3 separate regions of the Homo sapiens genome follow, and regions 1 and 2 are each linked to region 3. The links are contacts of gene promoters, found by promoter capture Hi-C in human tissues and cell types (Jung and others, 2019). All regions are on one chromosome and are shown on one strand. Each heading gives the region's core, a stretch centred on a gene start or on the middle of the fragment in contact. The rest is flanking DNA. Distances are from core to core; before and after follow the strand shown.

Region 1 (2,923 bases), core at 51-2,550, 140 kb after region 3:
GAGTTTGAGACCAGCCTCGCCAACATGGTGAAACCCTGTTTCTACTAAAAATACAAAAATTAGCCAGGTGTGGTGGCGGGTGCCTATAATCCCAGCTACTCAGGAGGCTAAGGCAGGAAAATTGCTTGAACCCAGGAGGCGGAGGTTGCAGTGAGCCAAGATCGTGCCATTGCACTCCATCCTGGGCGACACGGCAAGACACCATCTCGAAAACAAACAAACAAAAAGAATCACTGAATGGCATAGAGCATGTAGCAACCTGTAACATGTGGGAACACTGATGTTCTAAGGAACACAGTTTGGGAAATACTGGATTAGTTGCAATTGGTTATGAAAGCAAGGAAAGGGCAAGGTGGTGTCTGGGGATATCTCCCAGCTTAATGATTTTATATGTTGGGCTAACTGAGTTGCTGGTCCTCTTTCTTTCTCCTCCTTCCCATCACAACCTGATCCAGGCATAAATCTACCTTCCATTAAATTATTATCTTCTCTGACTTTCCTATTTCTCCCACTTACATGTCTAGGCTATCAAAACTTTCCCTCCCTCTCTCCCTATATCTCTTTCCTCTGTCCTTCTCTTTTTCTTGTAGCCTCCTTTCTCCCATGAAAGTGCTTTCTGCTTGTTATTAAGCAACATCACTTTTCTTCCATTAAAACAATGCTTTTAATTGCTTTTTATGTAATATTAAGCTTCTCTCTGATGTGGCCACCTAGTTTAGATTCTCTTCTATTTTTTCCTCTATACTTTAATTAAGACTTAGGGACTTTTGGGCCTGGCATGGTGGCTCATGCCTGTAATTCCAGGACTTTGGGAGGCCGAGGCAGGTGGATCACTTGAGGTCAGGAGTTCAAGACCAGCCTGACCACAATGGTGAAACCCCATCTCTACTAAAAATACAAAAAATTAGCCAGGTGTGGTGGCACACGCCTATAATCCCAGTACTCAGGAGGCTGAGGCAGGAGAATAGCTAGAACCCAGGAGGTGAAGGTTGCAGTGAGCCAAGATTGTGCCACTGCACTCCAGCCTGGGTGACCAAGTGAGACTCCATCTCAAAAAAAAGAAAGAAAGAAAGAAAGACTTAGGGACTTCTTTAAGAATAAACCTGCCATCCTGATGATCCCTTAATTTCCCTTTTCTATACCATAGTGACTCCTAGTTCTAGACTAGTCTATAAAGCCATCATCCCTTATTATTGAACATCCCTTCCAATAAATAATTTCTCACAGGAAGCTACTCAAGATCAGCATTATGCTATGCTGTTCCACCTCGCTTCTTAATCTTGTCATTAACACTATTAGCCAGCTGAGTAATGGTGTTCTAGAAACTTTATGAAAATAAACACACACTGCCTATCCACAAGGAGCTTTCTCTGAAAGAGATAACAGTGACAGGAATATGTTGAAAGAAAATAATTTTCTCTGGGGCATATGTATACAGATTAAAAAAAAAAAACAACTTTTCTCCATCTCCCAACAGAGTATGATTTCATACCACAGATACAAAGAGGTGGAGTCTTCTTCTGTCTTATCCCCACTGAATTTCTTCTTTTCTCAAACTTACTATGTCCCTTTCACACAATATGACCAATAGGAAAGTGAACATTTTAGTTGGTTTTTAGGTCAAATTCAAATACTTTCTGATGAAGTAGATATCCCCTTTCTTCCTGCTTTAGCACCAATTCTAGACCTTCCATGATAATCGATTAGGTTAGCAGAGATGTCATCTTCCTGGTCTGAACATTTTCTTAATCATGTATAGCTCTGGACTACAAAAGAAAAATTCCTTTACCTGAGAAGAAAATGATTCTCTGGTATCCTAAGAAAATTCCAATTTGATTATGCTCTTATAATCTCATTTAAAAAATTTTCACTTTGACACAATTTCAGGGTTACAGAAAAGTTGTAATGGCACAGAAAATTCCTATATACCTTTCACCCAAATTCCCCAAAAATGTTATCTTTACCACATTTTTTTTATTCTCCTCTCTTGCTCTCTCCACAAACACATAATTTTTCTCTGGAATTATTTGCAAGTCATAGGCATAATATGGCTTTTCATAAGACAGAGTCATCGGCAGATATGTGATGGAGCAAGTATAGGTGATGGGCTGTGACTGCTCATAGCCCATTGTAAATTAAAGTGTTTTCAACTTTTATTGTAGGCGAAGACATTTCAAAATAAAATGTTGAGGGGAAAAATCAGAAAATCAACACTGATACAATACTATTATCTCCAGACTTTATGCAGATTTTGACAATGTCCCAAGAATGTCCTTTAAGTAAAAGAGAGTCTCAGATCATGCCAAGTTATCTAAATATATCCTGGTATCAGAGGAAGTTGGCTTTCTGACTATTCGTACTTAGGCGAGAGACCTGGGCTAAGGTTAAACCAAAATACCAAAATATCCAAAACTTCGTTATATTTGGCTTTAAAATTTTCAGTCCTTTGGGGATAGATATATCTATAAAATTATGTTTTGACTAAGTTTTAAAATTAAAATTCCACCCCAGCTCAGTGGCATGGGATATGTTTTGTAGTAAAATGTGCCTTAGGGGGAAACTGCCTGAGGTGGAATATTGAGGTGCAGACAATCCATGATGTAGATGTCATGCACAAGGTACATGAAAGCTGACAATGAATAGGACTTAGAATATCATTCCAATGCTTCATGATCCTTTGCATAAACAGGTGTCAAGGTTATTTTTATTAATATACCTCTTTTTGGCCCTTTAAAATAAACCTAAGGGAGAGCATTGAGACTTTTTCTCTTGTGGAAAGCTTTAGCTACCTCTTCTCTACCCTGTTCGCCCCTCAAACAAGTTTATGTGGTAAACTGTTTCCATATTGAATGGCTGACTGTCTTTTATAATCTGAATTAGAAAATGCAAAAAAAAAATCCTTTAAAGTCAAGCAGTGGAATTA
Region 2 (3,411 bases), core at 176-2,675, 210 kb after region 3:
GGAACAGAGGTCCAAGAAGTCCAGATGACTAGCTAAAATCTACAAAGATTTAGACTGTACATAAATAAATGGAAGTAATAAAAATCCACAATTCACAGATGGGTGTAGTAAACACTGATTATCTATTACTTGACCAGTGGTTGTAGTGTCTAAGTTCTAAAACAGTGCATATTAACTTCTATATGCTTGAAAAATGTGAGCCACACTAGCTAATAAAAGACTTTGAGGCCAGAGGGTAATTACAGGAAGGCTTTTAAGTAGAATAAAAAACAAAACAATTTTTCTAAGTCTTCTTACAATATAAACAAAAACTGTTAGAACCATTTTTTATGGTTGAGAAGAAATAGCAGAAATAAATAGAAAGAAGAAATCTTGCTTCCTCACTCTATAAAGTACAAAAATCCTTATTCACAAGCTTCCATAGCTCTCACGAAGCTGTTTTCTGAGTCTAATGATCATAACGAAAACTTCTTAATTATAGATCAGACTTAGTAAATCACTCCTTATCCCAAGACAACTCAAACTCTATCTTAATAATCAGTTAACCTCAGGACTAAAACTCTTGTCATTAACAACAAAAAAACAACTCAGGTATCTATAAGGCATTATAAAAGAGTTTGAGCTTATTTTGGTGTACAGGGATTTAAGGAAGTGCCTCCTATTAACACTAATGGGAGTTCTGGGTGTAAACCATAAGCACCAAGGAGGAGGATCAACGCCCAGCACTGCATCTGTGAGAACCCTTTCTATTGCACTAACTGTAACTACTGGGAGTTGTTCGCTCAGAAATGGGATAATAGACCCAAATTCCTATGTCTCTAAAGCACAAGATAATTCAAATAAAAGTCACTAAGAAAGGTCAATGCTAGATACCAGATTTTAAAAATAAACAAGAAGAAGTTAAACTAAAAGAACAACACATTAAGAAAATTTTATAAAATAGCATCAACATACACAGAAGAAATTAGTGAATTGCTAGAGAAAAATATCTCACACAAAAATAAATTCAACAAGATTAAAACAACCAAATTTTAAAAAATTAAAGCACAGTAAACCCAACTATAGCCAGAAGCTTATCCAGAGAAACACATGCACACAAAACAAAACTCAACTCCTCCCTGATGGAGCCCTCAGTATACTACAGTCCTTGCTTTAAACACAGAAGAAAACTCCTGCTGCATCGATAGCCAAGAATAATCAGAGTACTTCCAGATAAATGGACAGTGATCACAAGCTGCCGAGGATGAGCAAAACTAACTAAATAAAAATTATAGCACCTTATTGTGTTCCATCCTGCCTCACTTCTCAATATAGCACTGCTGTACTCACTAGGCTGGAAAATGAGCAGGTGCCTTTCAGGCTATAGAAAAATTAGACACACACACACACACACACACACACACACACACACACACCCTAAACACAAACACAAACACAAAGGGAATGATACTCTTTCACTTGAAGGGGCTTAAAAAATGCAAGGCTTTGCTGCAGGCCTAGAAAACTCAGAGTAGGCCTTACCGAAGAAGTGAGAAAAAAGCCAAGCTTTATTCCAAATCCACATTTCAAGCACTAAAAGAATTAACATTTATTTCAGTTAAAAGGTTTTGGCAACAATCCATTTTTTAAAAAGGAAAGAGAAATTAAGATTTTCCCTGTTTCCAGCCTGAAAGAAAATTAGAATCTCTTCTCTCTGACTATACAGGTTTAGCTCCACAACACAAATAAAAAAGAACCCTGACTTTAGGCCTAAAAACTAAAAATGGTTCCATACAATTTACATTTTTTAAAAAATCTTTGTAGTCCAACATATTGATCCTTTCTCACCACTGCTATCCTTAATGAACATTTATCTTTTTATCAGTACTTTGAAATGTCAATGAGAAGTGGAAACAGCTACAATACACTGGGAATTTTAACTTTTGAAACAAAAACCACAAAGAAACAGGAGTCTGAAACATGCCTCAATCACGCTGATAAGTAAGTAGTCCTAAAACTTGAAAGTGAAAGCAATACAGACCTCAAAAAGAAGTTGTTTGCTTGATATTAATGCTAGCCTTTAAGACCAAAAATATGTTATGTTACAGAAGACTGAAATCAGGGCTTCCATTAACCTTGTTTAAAAAAAAAAAAATCCCATGAGCATGGACTTTTTTCCTAAGTCTCTTCATCAGAGCAGCATGGGGTCCCATTAGGCACCCTATTTTACTTCCACCTTATAAATAACGTTAGCTATTTGCTATTTCCATGGAAACCAAGTAGAGAGAAACCCACTTAAATGAATACCGGTTAAAAGAATAAGTTTTATTTTAGAAAGGTTTTGCTGCTATAGGCGAACTCTTCTGGGGAATACCACAAAGTCTTCTTAAGTATAATTTTTAAAATATATATCTTTGGTGTAGAGGGAACTTATTAAAGGTCCTGTTAAGTAAGTATACTCCTTGCACTAAATGATAGATGCCAAATAACATCATAACATTAAAGACACATTTTCAATGCACAGGGGTTTACATGCACAACTTTCACTGACTATGCTTCCCCATGCATTGAGATGGAATAATTACACCTGTGGGTCTAATTTAAACTAATGCAACCAAATAAATTCAGAAATAAGTCTACCATTACCTTGTAGTGACTCCTAATGAACACGCCCCACAACTGCAGACATATGTACAACTTACAGTGCAAAGAAGAGCAAACAAGGGAGCACATAGCAAGTTTCTAACCACTGTTACCACGTCTAAAGATAGCAGGTAGTCAAAAGTCCCTCCTTGACAAACCATTTTATAAGTGAAACAAGCATTCCTTAACCAATACACACATTTGGGTTAAATAGAAATAGAATATGCACAAGAAGGAAGTGCGGAACAAGACTTGTGACCTGCAACTTTAAGCTGACTTATATATTGTCCTGCTTATGCTAAGAAATGGTGGTCCATACAACCATCACAGACAGGAAAGTGTACATAAAATAAAATGCAACTCCTAAGAACACAAGCTCAAAACTAATAATCTCAGAACTTCTAAAAGCAGGAGTAAGAAAAGCTAAAATCTGTCCAGCAGGCATCGTTCTTCACTAAGTTAGTGGTGGCTCAGACATCTTCAGTAAGTTAAAAGACAAATGAAAATATTATCCTAAAAGGGATTACCAGTATTAAACTAACAATGTATGAAAAGAACATTCTCATACACATTTTTCCTTTGAGTATACCAATGTATCTAACTGTAGTGCATGTTTTGAAAACACAAAGTTACTTTCCTGTTATGTTTTACACACTATAAATAAAGATTGGCAAAATGCTGGTAATTGTTAGTTAGGGAATAGGTACGTGGGGTTATATTATTCACTCTATTTTTATAAATGTTTTTAAATTTCCATAAGAAGAAGTTATTTAAAATCCTATAAAGGCT
Region 3 (3,059 bases), core at 195-2,694:
AGGCACCATGGCAGCAGATGATTACCGTGAGGGCCCAGTGAAAGGGGCCTGATCACGAAAGCTGAGAAAGTAGTGGCCACCCCTCTGGGCCCCAGGGACAGGGAAAAGAGAAGCAGCCATGACCTTTGGCTCTAGGTATTGGGATATTCTCAGGGCTGGTGGTCGGAGGTTGCCTTCTGCACGGAAGGTGCCTCCAGCTCCTTGCTAGGTGCCGCACTGAAGGAAAGGGGCCAGCATGACTGGTCGGCAGTCCAGATTTGCAAATAGGACTCCACGAGTTGTGGCACAGTTTGCTCTGCACGTTTTCTGCCCTGTGGACAGGGTCTCTAGGGTTCTCTCGAGAGACCAGAGAAGCCAATGAGGTTTGACCAGAGGCTCTACGACCCAGCAAAGCTAAGGCCCTAGCCTTGGCAGTCCGTACTCTGAAATAACTCAATCGGGAAACTCAGGGACTTGAAGGCCTGGAAGCCCAGGAATAACACCCTCTCGAGGGAGAGACAATGAGGAAGAAGCCATGGCCAAAGCCTAGCAGGGATGGAGGTGCCAGAGGGAACAGAAACAACCAAAATGATCCCAAGAAGTCAACAGTGGGAGGAGAGGGAAAGGCGCCAAGTCTTAGAATGTGTGTCTGTGGGTGCAGAAGAGGGGTGCTCTGCAGGAAATGCAGTTGAGGCGCTAAGAAGGAGAATGCTGGGAAGGTCCTGGCGAGAGACCGAGAAGCCTGGAGGGCTCAATTCACCACGAGTAGCTGTTTGGGGCTGAAGAGAGATTTGGGTCAATCTTTAGAGAAGACAGCCTCTAGGGAGAGTCTTTGGGAGGGTCCCCTCAAGGTAAAGGGACAGGACTGGGGTGAGGGCTGGATCCCAGCGCAGGAGGTGGAGTGTTTCTGGGTCTCAGGCAACACATTTGTGTTACGTTACATTCTCACAACAACCATGAGAGGGACTGCTATTGTCCCATTTCACAGATAAGAAGACCAAACCTTAGTGCTCTGAAGTCACTAATGCAAGGCCCCACTGCCCAGTCACTTGTGGAGCCAGTGAATTCACACCACCTGACTCCAAACCTGTACACTTTAAGAGCCCACTGACATCCTCTCCTTTCTCTGCCTTCCTCCACGACCCTCCTTTTCCGCCTGCCTTCTTGGTCTCTGCTGCGGGGGGCCAACCTGGACCTTGGGGTCCAGTGTCCTGCCATTAGTCATCTGATACCCGGGCACTAAGCCCAACCGGAGGGACAAAGCCCACACCGGCCACGGGGTGGAGGAGAGTCGATGTCGGATTTAGGGCGGGGCTGAACCAAGCCCAGGGCCGCGGGGGCCGTGGCTTCAGCACCGCGGAGAGCGCCATCTCCGGGGGCGGGGCTGGCGGGGTGGGGGCGGGGCCTGGGCGGGGCGCGCGAGACCCCGGCCGGGTCCCGGGGGCGCGCGCGGGGCGCTCTCGCCAGTCCCGCGGGCCGTGCGCGGTGCTGTGCCGCGCCCTGCCAGACACAGGTGCGCCCGCCTAGCCCGAACTCCGCGGCGGCGGCTGCCCTCTCGCCGCGCCTCCGCCTCCTTCGCAGCCGCCGCCTCCTCCGCGCCGCGCTCCGCCCGGATGGCCAGGGCTGTGCCCGAGAATGGCGGAGCGAGAAAGCGGCGGCCTGGGAGGGGGGGCCGCGTCCCCGCCCGCCGCCTCCCCGTTCCTGGGGCTGCACATCGCTTCGCCTCCCAATTTCAGGTGAGAGTCCCCGGCCGCCGCGCGCCTCGCCCTTCAGCGGGGACTGATCCGCATTGGCTGCCCTGCCCGCCCCCCACCCCAGAACCTCGGGAACCCGGGAACGAAAGGGCTGCGTGGGAGTGGGGTCTCTTCCCGGGACAGAGCCCCCCTCAGAAGCCCCGCCAGCCTCAAGTCCGGACTGGTAGCCGTTGCATGTTCACGAGGCTGTTCCCTCCGCCATTCCTGGTCCTAGGCTGGGAGGTCTGCGCTGGAATTGGAGGAGGGGGCTCGGAGGCCTCCTTCTCCCCAACCTCCGGGCTGCGGCAGGGTCTGGGGTCGGGGTTGCGATCCCGGAGCGGGCAGGCAGGCTGCATCTTAGCCTGTGAATAGAGCTGGGAACAGCCTGGAGGGGCGCGGGTCGCAGTTTCCTGGGGCAACGACATTGTTGGTGCTGGGAGGAGGATGTTTGAGCCCCTCCCCGAGCCCTGCCTGGCCAGATGGGCCTACCTGCCAGGCCTGGCGTGGCCGGGCCCCTCTCTGGATTGGGCAGCACCGACCTAGGCAGGTGTGTCTCTCAGGGCAGGCGCTGAAGGCTCAGCCTCAACCAGGGGAATCCTAGGCCCGGCTGCGGGAAGGGAAGTCGGCTCGGCTCTGGAGTAGCCAGGGCCAGCGAGGGTGTCGAGGGGATCCCTGCTGGGGTAAATACCCAGAACCCTGACCTGAGCTCCTATTCCACCACCCCCACCCCCCAATCTGGTGTTAGGCCCGATGCATTTCAGAGAAGTGAGGGGTGAGTGTTGTGTGGAGGAGGAATAGATGTACCTCCCCCATAATTCTGAACCCTAGTTGGTGGGGAGGAAGAGGCCGAAGTCACTGCTCCCGGCCTAGAGAGGGAGGCTTAGACATACCCCATTGTTTCCCCATCTCGAGAACTGGCGCCTTCCCCTCTCCTGGGGCACCACCCCAGCCAGGCTCCAGCTGGGCTGTGGTGCCAGCCCCTCCTGGGAGCAAGGGGTCACTGGCTCCCAGGTCCTCAGGTGGGCAGAGACCCCTGGGGATCTCTAATAGCATCATCAAACTCAGAAACCTTCCCTGAGGCCCTGAGCTGAGCTGGAAGGACCAGAGGGGGCCAGATGGAGGAGGCCAGGCCTGAAGGCTCCAGGGCTGCAGCTCTCTGATAATGCCTTAGACTGAGGTCTGAGACTCCACCTGGCATGGTGCATGAGGCCTCCATGCAAATACTGCCTCCCCACCTGGAGGCCTCTGCAGTGGAAGCACATGGGGCTTAGAGGGACCTGGGTTCAAATCCTAGCTCCACTACTTTCTAACTGCATGACCCAGGCAGGTTTTTGTCCTCTCTGGGTG

What was found. The method cuts DNA at HindIII sites, captures the fragments that hold promoters and counts their contacts. A contact is called where the count stands out against the background at its distance.
Region 1: a contact is called between a fragment that was not itself captured here and the fragment with the promoter of MAPK8IP1 in region 3, in 2 of the 25 tissues and cell types used here (bladder and heart right ventricle).
Region 2: a fragment that was not itself captured here is called in contact with the fragment with the promoter of MAPK8IP1 in region 3 in 1 of the 25 tissues and cell types used here (H1 embryonic stem cells).

The regions. Positions count from the first base shown.
Region 1 is chr11:46,023,748-46,026,670 of GRCh38, forward strand. All of the region lies in intron 6 of PHF21A (PHD finger protein 21A), which reads right to left. Among named protein-coding and RNA genes, the nearest start is that of PHF21A, 96 kb to the right of the region's middle. The HindIII fragment of the contact is 4,792 bases long and covers 1-2,923 here.
Region 2 is chr11:46,098,149-46,101,559 of GRCh38, forward strand. All of the region lies in intron 1 of PHF21A (PHD finger protein 21A), which reads right to left. Among named protein-coding and RNA genes, the nearest start is that of PHF21A, 22 kb to the right of the region's middle. The HindIII fragment of the contact is 3,376 bases long and covers 1-3,113 here.
Region 3 is chr11:45,884,207-45,887,265 of GRCh38, forward strand. MAPK8IP1 (mitogen-activated protein kinase 8 interacting protein 1) reads left to right here and starts at 1,445. Exons shown (of 12, transcript NM_005456.4): 1 at 1,445-1,715. The coding sequence starts at 1,615. RefSeq lists a silencer at 1,307-1,706. The HindIII fragment of the contact is 16,221 bases long and covers 1-3,059 here.